2 separate regions of the Homo sapiens genome follow, and region 1 is linked to region 2. The links are contacts of gene promoters, found by promoter capture Hi-C in blood cells and fetal thymus (Javierre and others, 2016). All regions are on one chromosome and are shown on one strand. The core of a region is centred on a gene start or on the middle of the fragment in contact, and the rest is flanking DNA. Distances in the headings are between cores, read along the strand shown. Region 1 overlaps BANP (BTG3 associated nuclear protein). Region 2 holds the start of CA5A (carbonic anhydrase 5A).

Region 1 (4,136 bases), core at 454-2,953, 120 kb before region 2:
GGTATGACAGGTAAAAGAAATGAATAACCTTTTAAATATATATTTGAAAATGGTAAAATTGATCAAAAACAATCTTCGAATCATCAGGCCTGCCACCACTGTCTGACATCACAGAGTCTGATGCGGGGCTAAACAAAAGGGCCAGGAGTGCAGGGGCCAGCGTGAAGCGTGACCAGAGCAGTGGGAGCATCTCAGGGGTTGTGATAAAGACATTTCAGCTTCAGCTAACAGCGAGCCCTTCGAAGGCACCATTGTTTCAACTGAGTAAAACACTGAAAGTGTACATTTCAGTCATCATTTCATCTAAGTTCTCTCTCTAAAAAAAAAAAAAAAGAGAGAGAATACGCTTCCCAGCCAAACACTTTGTCCAGCTTGTCCTGGGCCCTTGCCTGACTTAAAGATTCTTCTACGCTGCAACCACAGACAGTGTCCCAAGAAATTCAATGGGACAAAAATGATAGTCCTCAAATTAGTACACCTATTTTACTGACTAGTCATCACTCAAGCCTGAAACTACCTTCCTTGCTGCTTGCCAAAACAGACCAAGAAGCAAAGAAGCAGAGAGTCCTTGGAGTTCCACAGCCACTCCACACTCTCAGAACACTCTGCTGCATGCGGCAAGCCTGTTAGGGGCCACAAGGACCCCTCCAGTGTCAGAGCCACAGGCAGGAGACACCACGGCCTCCCTTTGTAAGTCAGGGCCCCACCTCCCCAGACAGGGCAAGGAAGCTGAAGAGCCAGCTGTCCAGGTGGGCCTGAGCCCCCCAGCAAGGCAGCAGGAGGCATGCGGGCAGCTCCACACCTTTCCCAGGGGGTTTCTTGGGACTAGTCAACACCAAACTCACTCCACTTCAGACCTTTTATGATTTAAATTACATTTTCCACCATTTCTGGTAGAGAAGGCTTCTCCATAAGAGATTAATTCCCTAAACCACTGAGAGTCTCCAAGATTTCTGCTTGTGTTTTGGCATGTAATGCAGGAATATATTTTCTTGATGGGAGCATTTTTATTACAAGTGACATAGGGTGTGTGTCTAGGAAGGCGAGATGATCCTCCTTCTGTGACAAACCATTTAGAGTGGCCTAAAGCCTCCTGGAAATACAAGAGGCCATTTTTCAGCTATAGATAAAGACACCCTGCACACACACACTCCTTCTCCTCGCTCTCTCCAAAAAAATCCTACACGTAAAATGTTGGACATTTCCCATGTCTTCTAATCTTTTTCCCAGCTGGGTCTAGAAGGCCTTATTTCATGGAAAAAGATTCTGAAGCCTTCTGAAACTTACTCTTAAGCGAAGTATCAGGAGGAATACAAATGCCAAAGATGGGAGAGAAGCTGAAAAGCTTCAAGGTCACCAAGCCTGCCGTCAGCTGAACCCTGGTCAAGTCATTGCACAGGTGCACAGTGGGAACGCCCTGGATCCGTCACTGCTTTGCTTAACTTTACTAAATGTACACGCGTCATGTGTACGTACACATATTCAATCATTCAGGGGTGTGTGTGCGGAGGGGGTGGGTGGGTGTATGGATTACAGATGGGTTTACCAGAACATACACAAAATACCTCCTAGCTTTTCCAGTGATTTCACATTGTTTAGCCTATAAACATATATAAGCTTTGTTCGTGCACATCTTAGGTAACATTAGCTACATCTGTTTAAAAAAAAAAAGGGCAAAAAAGGGCAAAAAAAAAGTATTAAAATACACACGTACTAGAAACAGTACTAAATAATTTCATGATTCATGATCTAAGCAGCATGATTAATAATCAAGCCTTGAAAAGCTTCCCATGTGACTGAAAATCTTCCAAATATAGTGAAAGAACTGACCCAGATTTGAACATCTCAATAGATATAATACCCCCTAGGAACAGAGTTTGGTACTAACTGTTCAAACCATACTGCACATTAGATTCAATCTGCAGAATCCAAATTCAACACTGTGAAGGCTTTATCCTGAAGCAACACTGAGGACCTTCCATTTCTATCACACCTAAGCTACTACTCAAGGCCTACATAGTAAGGACAGAAGCCATGCCCACTGACCCTCCATAAATATTCCTATGAGCTAGGCAAAGGAAGCACTGTCATTTCAGTCTCGACAGGAAGAGGGTGAGAGGCCAATAAGTAGATAGATTAGAAAACAACTCAGGATAATCAGGAAATTCACTTGACCCCTTGACGGTGCTGGTGCTGGTGCTGGTGCTGTTGATGGCTGTGATAGCACTGGGAGTGGTGGGGGTGGCGGAGGTAAGGGCAACGGAGAGGGTGACAGGGACAATGGTGGTAGAGGTCATGCTGTGATAGATGTGTTGTTGGTAGTGGTGGTGAGGATGAGGGACATAATAGTGGTGGAGGTGGTGGTGGTAGTGTTTGTTAAGGTGGTTGTGTTGGTGATGATGGAGATAGTAGAGGTGGTGGTGGTAGTGGTTGTTAGGGTGGCTGTGTTGGTGGTGATGATGGAGATGACAGTGGTGAAGGTGGTTGTGTTGGTGATGATGATGGAGATGACAGTGGTAGAGGTGGTGGTGGTGGTGAAGGTGACTGTGTTGGTGATGGTGATGATAGTGAAGGAGGTGGGGGTGGTAGTCGTTAGGGTGGTTGTGTTGGTGATGATGATGATGATGGAGATGATGGTGGAGGTGGTGGTGGTAGTGTTTGTTAAGGTGGTTGTGGTTGTGCTGGTGATGATGATGGAGATGACAGTAGAGGTGGTGGTGAAGGTGGTTGTGTTGGTGATGATGATGATGGAGATGACAGTGGTAGAGGTGGTGGTGGTGGTAAAGGTGGTTGTGTTGGTGATGGTGATGATAGTGAAGGAGGTGGGAGTGGCTGTTAGGGTGGTTGTGTTGGTGATGATGATGGAGATGACAGTGGTAGAGGTGGTGGTGGTGGTGAAGGGGACTGTGTTGGTGATGGTGATGATAGTGAAGGAGGTGGGGGTGGTAGTGGTTGTTAAGGTGGTTGTGTTGGTGATGATGGAGATAGTAGAGGTGGTGGTGGTAGTGGTTGTTAGGGTGGCTGTGTTGGTGATGATGATGGAGATGACAGTAGAGGTGGTGGTGAAGGTGGTTGTGTTGGTGATGATGATGATGGAGATGACAGTGGTAGAGGTGGTGGTGGTGGTGGTGAAGGTGACTGTGTTGGTGATGGTGATGATAGTGAAGGAGGTGGGGGTGGTAGTCGTTAGGGTGGTTGTGTTGGTGATGATGATGATGATGGAGATGATGGTGGAGGTGGTGGTGGTAGTGTTTGTTAAGGTGGTTGTGGTTGTGCTGGTGATGATGATGGAGATGACAGTAGAGGTGGTGGTGAAGGTGGTTGTGTTGGTGATGATGATGATGGAGATGACAGTGGTAGAGGTGGTGGTGGTGGTAAAGGTGGTTGTGTTGGTGATGGTGATGATAGTGAAGGAGGTGGGAGTGGGAGTGGCTGTTAGGGTGGTTGTGTTGGTGATGATGATGGAGATGACAGTGGTAGAGGTGGTGGTGGTGGTGAAGGGGACTGTGTTGGTGACGGTGATGATAGTGAAGGAGGTGGGGGTGGTAGTGGTTGTTAGGGTGGTTGTGTTGGTGATGATAATGATGGAGATGATAGTGGTGGAGGTGGTGGTGGTAGTGTTTGTTAAGGTGGTTATGGTTGTGTTGGTGATGATGATGATGGAGATGACAGTGGTGGAGGTGGGGGTGGTAGTGGTTGTTAGGGTGGTTGGGTTGGTGATAATGATGGAGATGACAGGGGTGATGGTGATGGTAGTGTTTGTTAGGGTGACTGTTGGTGATAATGATGGAGATGGTAGTGGTAGAAGTGGTTGTGGTGGTATGATGATGGAGATGATAGTGGTGAAGGTGGTGATGGTAGTGGTTAAGGTGGTTGTGTTGGTGATGATGATGGAGATGATAGTGAAGAAGGTGGTGGTGGTAGTGATTGTTAGGGTGGTTGTGTTGGTGATAATGATGGAGATGACAGTGGTGAAGGCGGTAGTGGTAGTGGTTGTTAAGGTGGTTATGTTAGTGATGATGATGGAGATGGTAATGGTAAAGGTGGTGGTGGTAGTGGTTAGGGTGGTTGGGTTGGTGATGATGATGGAGATGATAGTGGTCGAGGTGGTGGTGATAGCAGTTGTTAGGGTGGTT
Region 2 (4,126 bases), core at 266-2,765:
AGGATTGCTTGAGCCCAGGAGTTCAAGACCAGCCTGGGCAACATGGCGAGAACCTGCCTCTACAAATAATTTTTAAAATTAGCTGGACATAATGGCATGCACCTATAGTCCCAGCTACTTGGGAGGCTGAGGAGGGAGGATCACTTGAGCCTGGGTGATTGAGACTGCAGTGAGCCATGATGGCACCACCGCACTCCACCTTGGGTGACAGAGCAAGACCTCACCTCAAAAAAAAAAAAAAAAAGAAAGAAAGAAAGAAAGAAAGAAAGAAAGAAAAGAAAAGAGGCTGGACGCAGTGGCTCATGCCTGTAATCCTAGCACTTTAGGAGGCCGAGGTGGGTGGATTGCCTGAGCTCAGGAGTTCGAGACCAGCTTGGGGAACACAGTGAAACCCCGTCTCTACTAAAAATACAAAAAATTGGCCGTTGTGGTGGTGTGTGCCTATAATCCCAGCTACTCAGGAGGCTGAGACAGGAGAATTGCTTAAACCTGGGAGGCAAAGGTTGCAGTGAGGCAGGATCACGCCATTGCACTCCAGCCTGGGCAACAGAGCGAGACTCCATCTCAAAAAAAGAAAGAAAGAAAAGAAAAGAAACGAAGAAAAGAGGCTGGGCGTAGTGGCTCACACTTGTAATCCCAGCACTTTGGGAGGCCGAGGCAGGCAGATCACCTGAGGTCAGGAGTTCAACACCAGCCTGGCCAACGTGGTGAAACCCCATCTCTACTAAAAATACAAAAAATTAGCTGGGCATGGTGGTGGGCGCCTGTAATCCCAGCTACTCAGGAGGCTGAGGCAGGAGAATTGCTTGAACCTGGGAGGCAGAGGTAGCAGTGAGCCGAGATCACGCCATTGCACTCTAGCCTGGGCAACAGAAGTGAAACTCTGTCTAAAAAAAAAAAGAAAAGGAAAGAAAGAAAGGTGGCCCTGTTAATGTTTATGCCAAGACAGCAGGCATGACCTGGAAGTGTCCGAAGCCACAGGGCATCTTGCTTCCGGGGAGGATGAATGAATCAAATCGCACCTATTTTAAGGCAAGCAAGGACTCCATGACTTCAGGAGCCCTGGTGGGTGGACAGAAGCTCCCTGCTCCCCTGGCCTGTCTACCCAGCAGCGCTTTGGCCAGTCCCATTCCTGTACTTCTGAGCCTGCCTGCCAGTCCCTCCTCACATGCACACCATGGCTTTGTGCCTGGTATTGAGTGTCCCGGAGCCCCAAACCACACGGTCAACCCCATGAAAGAAACAGGGACTCTGCTCTCATCCACTCGCCCCCGCCTCCCGCGTAATCCCCTGGTGCTCACGCAGCCCCACCGTACAGTTTTTCTAGCTCCCTGGCAGACTTGTGCTCCTGTTTGCCAGATCAAAGCCCAGTGACCTGAGTGGCCTGTCCCCAGCAGAGGCCACTAATCCCTGTGGACCCACCCTGTTGGGAAAGGCATGGGTTGAACTTTAACCATTAGGCTCAGGGGTTGGGATGAGTTTCTACAAAAAGAGGTGGGTACACGCCAGTCCACAGTGGTCCTGATCAAAGTGAGAACAGACAGCAGGGAACATCACCCTCTTCAGACTGGAGTCAGTGGGAACAGACCCAAGATGTTGGGGAGGAACACTTGGAAGACCTCAGCTTTCTCCTTCTTGGTTGAGCAGATGTGGGCCCCTCTCTGGAGTCGTTCGATGAGGCCAGGGCGATGGTGTTCTCAGCGTTCCTGTGCATGGCAAACCAGCAATAACACTTGTAAGTAGAGCCTCAAATTTCCTAAGATGCGACTGGATCCTTGTCTTAGCTGATGGGGTCTTTCGAGAGGAGAGAGGAGAGACCGTCCCGAGCCAGATGGGTTCAGATTTCCACTCCGTTTTTTTTTTTTTTTTTTTAAGATGGCGTCTCGCTCTGTGGCCCAGGCTGGAGTACAGTGGCGTGATCTCAGCTCACCACAACCTCCACTTCCCGGGTTCAAGCGATTCTCCTGCCTCAGCTTCCTGAGTAGCTGGGACTATAGGTGCATGCCACCACTCCTGGCTAATTTTTCGTATTTTTAGTAGAGACAGGGTTTCACTGTGTTAGCCAGGTTGGTCTCGAACTCCTAACCTCGCGATCCGCCTGTCTCAGCCTCCCAAAGTGCTGGGATTGCAGGCATCAGCCACGGCGCCCGGCCCTCTTTTTTCTTTTTTTGATGAAGTTTTGCTCTTTTGCCCAGGCTAGAGTGCAATGGCATGATCTCGGCTCACTGCAACCTCTGCCCTCCAGGTTCAAGTGATTCTCCTGCCTCAGCCTCCAAAGTAACTGGGACTACAGGCACCCGCCACTGCACCCAGCTAATTTTTTGTATTTTGGTAGAGATGGGGTTTCACCATGTTGGCCAGGCTGGTCTCGAACTCCTGACCTCAGGTGATCCACCCACCTTGGCCTCCCAAAGTGCTAGGATTACAGGCGTGAGCCACCGCGCCTGGCCACACTCCGTTTCTCTTGTATTTGGTGACCTTGGGTGAATCATTTAGCCTCCGTTTCAGGGGTCCTGGGGAGGGCAAGATGCTGGGAGCAGGCGGGTAGTCCGTGTTCGCACGGGACACACTGGCACGACTCACCATCCAGACCCGGCGGAATGGGCTGCACTAACCAGTCACGATCGCTCCTAAACTCTTCGGCAGAGAACGCTTTCAAGCAAACCTGTAACAAATAAACCACTCAGCCAGCTCTGCCAAGAAACTGCCCCGTGCCAGCCCCTCCTGGCTTCATGGTCAGTGCCTTGTGACCTTGAACGAGGCCCTTCCTCTTTCTGGGTCTCAGGTGCTTCCTCCGTAGAATGAGAGCCTGCTTTGGCAGCTGCCAAGTTCTCTTCTAACTGAAATCTTCCATGCATTCCATGTTTGGGCCATTGAAAGAGCATGGGCTTAGGAGCCAGACCCCAGGCATGCAGTCCGACTGACGCTTGCTGAGGTGGAGCCTCGGCAGGTCTTCACCCCCAAGCCTCTGTGTCCTTATCTCGAGATGGGGGTGGCCAGACTTTCTCTCCAGGGCCATGGAAGGATGACACGATGCGTGTAGAAAGCCTGGCCCACCCCAGACTCTGAGTGAGCTACACTCATTCCTCCTGTTGGGGTCCACACCTGTGGACTGGAGTGCAGTGGTGCGATCTCGGCTCACTGCAGCCTCTGCCTCCTGGGTTCAAGCGATCCTCTTGACTCAGCCTCCCAAGTAGCTGGGACTACAGGCGTGTGCCACCACGCCCAACTAATTTCTGTATTTTTAGTAGAGATAGGATTTCGCCATGTTGGCCAGGCTGGTCTCAAACTCCCGACCTCAGGTGGTCTACCTGCCTCGGCCTCCTAAAGTGCTGGGATTACAGGCGTGAGCCACTGCACCCACCCCCCTTTTTTATTCTTAGTACGACCGTCAAGAGCGCTAGCCTGCCTAGATTGGAATCTTGGCCCCACTGCTCTATGGCTGTTGCCCCTCTGTGACTTTCCTTTATTTTTTGAGACTAATTTCTGTCTTGTTGCCCAGGCTGGAGCGCAGTGGTGCGATCTCCAGCTCACCGCAACCCCCACCTCCCAGGTTCAAGCAATTCTCCTGCCTCAGCCTCCCGAGTAGCTGGAATTACAGGCATGCGCCACCACATCCGGCTAATTTTGTATTTTTAGTAGATACAGGGATTCTCCATGTTGCTCAGGGTGGTCTTGAACTCCCAGCCTCAGGTGATCTGCCCGCCTCAGCCTCCCAAAGTGCTGGGATTGCAGGCGTGAGCCACCACGCCCAGCTGTCCCCTCTGTGACTTTCTTAACTTCCCCCAGCCTTGGTTTTGTCGTCTGTAACAGGGGGTTGATAATGGTGCTTACGGCACAGTGTCGTTGGGAGAAGGGTCCGAGGTGGGGCCTGCAAAGGCTGGGGACAGCACATGGCTCCAGGAAGCCCTTGCTAGACGCCAGCTGCTGCTGTTGCTAACACAGGCAGCGGTGGGTGCCCTGTGTCTATTTAAGCATTTCCCTGTCAGTGGGCAGCAGGTAGCATTCCATTTCTTACTGTGGCAACATGTCCTCTTACATCGTGTGCTAGAGAGAGTCATATTCTGTATCGGCACCTAAATCCATTTACACCATGGTCCTCAACCTGTTCCCAGTGAACAGAGGG

The links. Contacts are between HindIII fragments. The CHiCAGO score rates a contact against its expected background, and 5 or more counts as called.
Region 1: a contact is called between a fragment that was not itself captured here and the fragment with the promoter of CA5A in region 2, in 2 of 17 cell types (total B cells and naive B cells). The highest score is 7.0, in total B cells.

Annotation. Positions count from the first base shown.
Region 1 is chr16:88,052,659-88,056,794 of GRCh38, reverse strand. The region is part of intron 11 of BANP (BTG3 associated nuclear protein); the gene reads right to left. Among named protein-coding and RNA genes, the nearest start is that of BANP, 100 kb to the right of the region's middle. The HindIII fragment of the contact is 167 bases long and covers 1,620-1,786 here.
Region 2 is chr16:87,933,918-87,938,043 of GRCh38, reverse strand. It overlaps CA5A (carbonic anhydrase 5A), which reads left to right and starts at 1,515. Exons shown (of 7, transcript NM_001739.2): 1 at 1,515-1,735. The coding sequence starts at 1,594. The HindIII fragment of the contact is 28,449 bases long and covers 1-4,126 here.